Linked DNA regions of Homo sapiens: region 2 is linked to region 1. The links are contacts of gene promoters, found by promoter capture Hi-C in human tissues and cell types (Jung and others, 2019). All regions are on one chromosome and are shown on one strand. The core of a region is centred on a gene start or on the middle of the fragment in contact, and the rest is flanking DNA. Distances in the headings are between cores, read along the strand shown.

Region 1 (2,709 bases), core at 33-2,532:
TCCGTCTCTCTCTCTCTCTCACACACACACACAAAAGGCCCTGGAGACAAAGGAACACTCCTTGTCCTTTTCTCCTGGCACAGCACAAGATTCTGTTGCTACATCTTTATTTACTGAGCATCTAGTATGTGCTGCACCTGGCACTGTTTTGTCTTTTTTGTTTTGAGACAAGGTCTTGCTCTGTAGGCCTGGCTGGAGTGCCATGGTACCATCACAGCTCACTGCAGCCTGGAACTCCTGGGCTCAAACAATCCCCCCACCTCAGCCTCCCTACTAGCTGTGGTTACACTTGCGCACCACCACGCCCGGCTAATTTTTTAAATTTTTCTGTAGAGACGGGGTCTTACTACATTGCCCAGGCTGGTTTTGAACTCCTGGCCTCAAGTGATGCTACGGACTTGGCCTCCCAAAGTGCTGGGATTCCAGGCACAAGCCACTGTGCCTGGTAGTGGACATTGTTAGCAGTGACTAAAGCAGAGAACGAGAAGGGGGAGGCCGCTGTAAACACATGAAGACAGGCAGCGTAAGAGAAAGTCACGAGGGCAGGAATAACATCCAGGCATACTTCAGATCCCAGCTCAAGAAACCACTCCCAGGCCAGGCGCGGTGGCTCACGCCTGTCATCTCAGCACTTTGGGAGGCCAAGGCGGGCGGATCACAAGGTCAGGAGTTTGAGACCAGCCTGGCCAACATGGCGAAACCCCGTCTGTACTAAAAATACAAAAGATTAGCCGGGCGTGGTGGCGGGCGCCTGTAATCCCAGCTACTCGGGAGGCTGAGGCAGGAGAATCGCTTGAACCTGGGAGGCAGACGTTGCAGTGAACTGAGATCGCACCATTGCACTCCAGCCTGGGTGACAGAGCAAGACTCCCGTCTCAAAAAACGAAAGAAAAGAAAGAAACCACTCCCAGACTCCCTGCCTGGGCGGGATCCTTTGATCAAGCCCTCAACATGCCTTGGGGCTCTCTTCACAATGGTAAGTTTGCATTTGTTTGTGTGATTCTAGGCCTCCTCTTATTTTCTTGAACAGGCCTCATCTGGCTTTGTTCATCTTTATGTCTCCAGCATCCAGCACAATCCCTGCCATTAGGGTCATGGCTTCATAAAAACGTCACGAATGCAACGCAGAAGTGCATGCATGCATGAATAAATGAATGATGCATGAAAAGAGCAATCTCCCTGTCCTGGAAGCAGCTTCCCCTAGGGGTGGGGGTGGGGTGCGGAGGCAGGGGCAGCCAGTGATGTCACAAGAGGTGGCTGGGATGGAACGTTCTGGAAGGTTGAATGGGGTAGAAGGCCTGTTGTGGAGGGAAACCACCCATCCTCCTGCCTCCCACCACCACCATCATCCTGGCTGGACGGAGAGGGTGACGGGGGCTGGGAAGGGGCAGCTCATGTTCAGGTTTCCAGGAGGGGCTACCTGTTGACTGTCTTTGCAGGAAGAAGAAAACACCTGAGTGACCAGATGTCCCAGCTCCAGGTGCCTTGCCAGATGGCCAGAACCACACCTCTTGAAGAGTGACAGGTGCCAGTGGTATGGGAGAAGGGCATGCGTTTTCTTTTCTTTTTTTTTTGAGACAGGGTCTCACTCTTTTGCCCAGGCTATAGTGCAGTGGCACGATCTCAGCTCACTGCAACCTCTGCCTCCCAGGCTCAAGTGATACTCCCACCTCAACCTCCCAAGTAGCTGAGATTACAGGCGCCTGCCACCATGTCCAGCTAATTTTTTTTTTTTTTTTGAGACAGAGTCTTGCTCTGTTGCCCAGGCGCAATCTCGGCTCACTGCAAGCTTCGCCTCCCAGGTTCACACCATTCTCCTGCCTCAGCCTCCTGAGTAGCTGGGACTACAGGTGCCTGCCACCATGCCCGGCTAATTTTTTGTATTTTTTAGTAGAGATGGGGTTTCACCACATTAGCCAGGATAGTCTCAATCTCCTGACCTCGTGATCCACCCGCCTTGGCCTCCCAAAGTGCTGGGATTACAGGCGTGAGCCGCCATACTCGGCCTAATTTTTATATTTTTAGTAGAGATGGGGTTTCGCCATACCAGCCAGGCTGGTCTTGAACTTCTGACCTCAGGTGATCCACCCGCCTCGACCTCTCAAAGTGCTGGGATTATAGGCACGCGCCACCATGCCCAGCTAATTTTTGTATTTTTAGTAGAGATGGGGTTTCACCATGCCAGCCAGGCTGGTCTCGAACTCCTGGCCTCAAGCGATCCACCCGACTCAGCCTCCCAAAGTGCTGGGATTACAGGTGTGAGTCACCACATCTGAACCCTACATGGCCTTTTAAAATTGTGAAACATATAATGCATATAAAATAACACAAAGCATATCTGTACGATTTAATGAATAACGATAAATATCTGTGTGCCCTTTTCACTTCGTGAAATCGAATATTACTAGTAACTTACAAGTCCTCTGTAGAGAACTCCTGAGCTCAAGTGATCCACCTGCCACGGCCTCCCAAAGTGCTGGGATCACAGGTGTGAGCCTCCGCACCCGGCCGATCGTGTGATTTTTAACGTGCAGTTCCCTGATGACCAAAGCTACTGAGCATCTTGTCCAGGATTTGTAGCCCTTTCCAGGCTCCTTTTTTGTGAACTGCCTGTTTACATTTTTCATCATAAAACACTGGGTTGTTTACATTTGTCTTTTAAATCCAGAGTTCTTTTCATACTCCGGATACTAATTTTATTTGCCCATT
Region 2 (2,930 bases), core at 306-2,805, 52 kb before region 1:
GGCAGGAGAATGGCGTGAACCTGGAGGCGGAGCTTGCAGTGAGCTGAGATCATGCCACTGCACTCCAGCACTCTAGCCTAGGCGACAGAGTGAGACTCCGTCTCAAAAACAAAACAAAATAAAACAAAAACAAAAACAAAAATTATCTGGGTGTGGTGGTGCACACCTGTAATCCCAGCTACTAGGGAGGCTACTAGGGAGGCTGAGGCAGGAGAATCATTTGAACCAAGGAGGCAGAGGTTGCAGTGAGCTGAGATCGTTCCATTGCATTCCAGCCTGGGCAACAGAGTAAGACCCTGTCTCAAAAAAAAAAAAAAAAAAAATGGTAGACAGGGGAAATGGACCAGATGTTGAATCTAGTTTGGTTATAGTCATTGCTGGGGATTAATATAGTAAGAGGAGGGTCCTTCTCTCCTGAATTGATGTCTATCAGGGGTTGGAAAGTTTTCTTTTTTTCTTTGAGACAGAGCCTTTCTCTGTCACACAGGCTGGAGTGCAGTGGCGCGATCACAGCTCACTTCATCCTCTAACTCCTGGGCTCAAGCCATCCTCCCACCACAGCCTCCCGTGTAGCTAGGACCACAGGCGTGCACCACCACTCTCAGCTAGTTTTTGTATTTTTTGTAGAGATGAGGTTTTGCCATGTTGCCCAGACTGGTCTTGAACTCCAGGGCTCATGGGATCCGCCCACTTTGGCCTCCCAAAGTGTTGGGATTACAGGTGTTAGCCACTGGAAAACTTTCTATAAGGGCCAGAAAATACACATTTTTGGCTTTGCAGGTCTCTGTTGAGACTACTCAACTCTGCCTCTGGACAGTAGGAGGAGTGAGTGTGGCCGCTGCACTCAGCGCTTTTCAGAGCCATGCTAGAGCCTGGGGCAAAGAGGAAAAAGAAGCAGCAGTGCTGATCCTGTCTTTATGTAAAATTTCAACATTTTGCTCATCATGGAATTTTTTTCCCATTATTTTTTTGAGACAGGGTCTCATTCTGTTGCCCAGGCTGCAGTGGCACAAACACGGCTCGCTGCAGCCTCAACCTCCCTGGGCTCAGGGAGTACGGGCACGTGCCACTACCCCCAGCTAATTTTTGTATTGTTTGTAGAGACGGGGTTTCACCCTGTTGTCCAGGCTGGTCTTGAACTCCTGGCCTCAAGTGATCCACCCGCCTTGGCTTCCTAGAGTGCTAGAATTACAGGCATGAGCCACTGTGCCCGGCCTTCATCATGAAATTTTTTGGCATTTATTTTGATTTTTTAAAATACTGCATTAAAACATTGTGTATCTTGATGACTGTGGATTTTTGTAGGCACTGCCTTAAATTTTGCATCCCAGGCGAGGGCCTCACTGCCTCATGCTAGTTCTGACCCTGGTGCTGGTGCTGTTCCAATAAATCTTTATTTATGGACACTGAAATTTAATTTCATATCATTTTCATGTGTCACAAAATATTTTGTCTTGTTTCCAATCATTTAAAAACGCAAAAAATATTCTCAACTCGTGGAAACTAAAAACAAAAATAAAAACCCACAGTAGTGTGCTAGATGTAGTCTGCTGACCCGTTTTTTTTTTTTTTAATTTTTATTCATTTATTTATTTATTCTGAGGCCGGGTCTTGCTCTGTCATCCAGGCTGGAGTGCAGTGGTGCAAACATGGCTCACTGCAGCCTCCACTTCCAGAGCTCAAGTGATCCTCCTGCTCAGCTTCCCCAGAAGCTGAGACCACAGGTATGTGCCACCATGCCCGGGTAATTTTTTAATTTTTTGTACAGATGGGGTCTCACCATCTTGCCCAGGCTGTGACCCCTATCTTGGATGGCCTTTGGGGGAACATGTCTTACTCATAATTATAGGCAGCGGAAAATGCCTGCTAGCGAGTAGGCACTCAAACGTGTCTGAATAATTTAGTCCCATTTTCTCCATTCTTAAATTACTGTTTAGGTTGCTTTACATTCTCTTCCCAGCCCCAGATCTCCAAATACAGGAGATGAGCACACGTGTCCAGGGCACCCCAGACCTCTTGGGCAGGGAGAATTCTCGGCAGAGAAGACCGGATATGGGAGTGTGGTGTGGGAATCGTCTGTGAGTGCTAAAGAACCGGTCCTCCACCTGCCCCAAGCTTTCCATTAGGCTCAAAAGCAGAGTTAGCCCAGTTAAGCGCATGGAAACTAAATGAGTTCGCTGTGCATTGTTCAGCTATACATGACCACAGGCAAGATAAATATTTAGGGTCTTTATTAAAGCTGTGATCCTCTGCTTTAGCAGGACAGCGTAGGGACTTACTAGAGGCAAACCATAAAAAGCATATGCCTCCTAGTAAAGTAATGCTGGGAAATATGACGAGTCAATTACTCTTTATCATTAATTGTGGTAAAATGTGCATAATGTACAATTTACCATTTTAACCATGTTTAATATACAGTTCAGTAGCATTAAGCACACTCACACTGTTGTGCAACCATCACCTCCATCCATCTCCAGAACATTCTCATCTTCCCAAATTGAAACTTTGTCCCCATGAAACACTCACTCCCTACCCCCTCCCCAGCCCCTGGCACCCACCATTCTACTTTCTGTCGCTATGGATCTGATGACTCTAGGGACCTCCTAGGGGTGGAATCACACTGGATTTGTCCTTTTTTTTCTTTCTTTCTTTCTTTTTTTTGAGACAGAATCTCGCTCTTGTTGCCCAGGCAGGAGTGCAGTGGTGCGATCTTGGCTCTCTGCAACCTCTGCCTCCTGGGTTCAAGTGATTCTCCTGCTGCAGCCTCCCAAGTAGCTGGGATTACAGGTGCCTGCCACCACGCCCGGCTAATTTTATATTTTTAGTAGAGGCTGGGTTTCACCATGTTGGCCAGGCTGGTCTCAAACTCCTGACCTCAGGTGATCCACCACCCACCTTGGCCTCCCAGAGTGCTGGGATTAGAGGTGTGA

What was found. The method cuts DNA at HindIII sites, captures the fragments that hold promoters and counts their contacts. A contact is called where the count stands out against the background at its distance.
Region 2: a contact is called between a fragment that was not itself captured here and the fragment with the promoter of ACSBG2 in region 1, in 1 of the 25 tissues and cell types used here (stomach).

What each region holds. Positions count from the first base shown.
Region 1 is chr19:6,134,385-6,137,093 of GRCh38, forward strand. ACSBG2 (acyl-CoA synthetase bubblegum family member 2) reads left to right here and starts at 1,283. Exons shown (of 15, transcript NM_030924.5): 1 at 1,283-1,525. The region is part of intron 3 of LOC105372255 (a long non-coding RNA gene); the gene reads right to left. RefSeq lists enhancers at 247-1,150, 1,151-2,053. The HindIII fragment of the contact is 13,898 bases long and covers 1-2,709 here.
Region 2 is chr19:6,081,991-6,084,920 of GRCh38, forward strand. All of the region lies in intron 1 of RFX2 (regulatory factor X2), which reads right to left. Among named protein-coding and RNA genes, the nearest start is that of RFX2-AS1, 21 kb to the left of the region's middle. The HindIII fragment of the contact is 5,805 bases long and covers 1-2,930 here.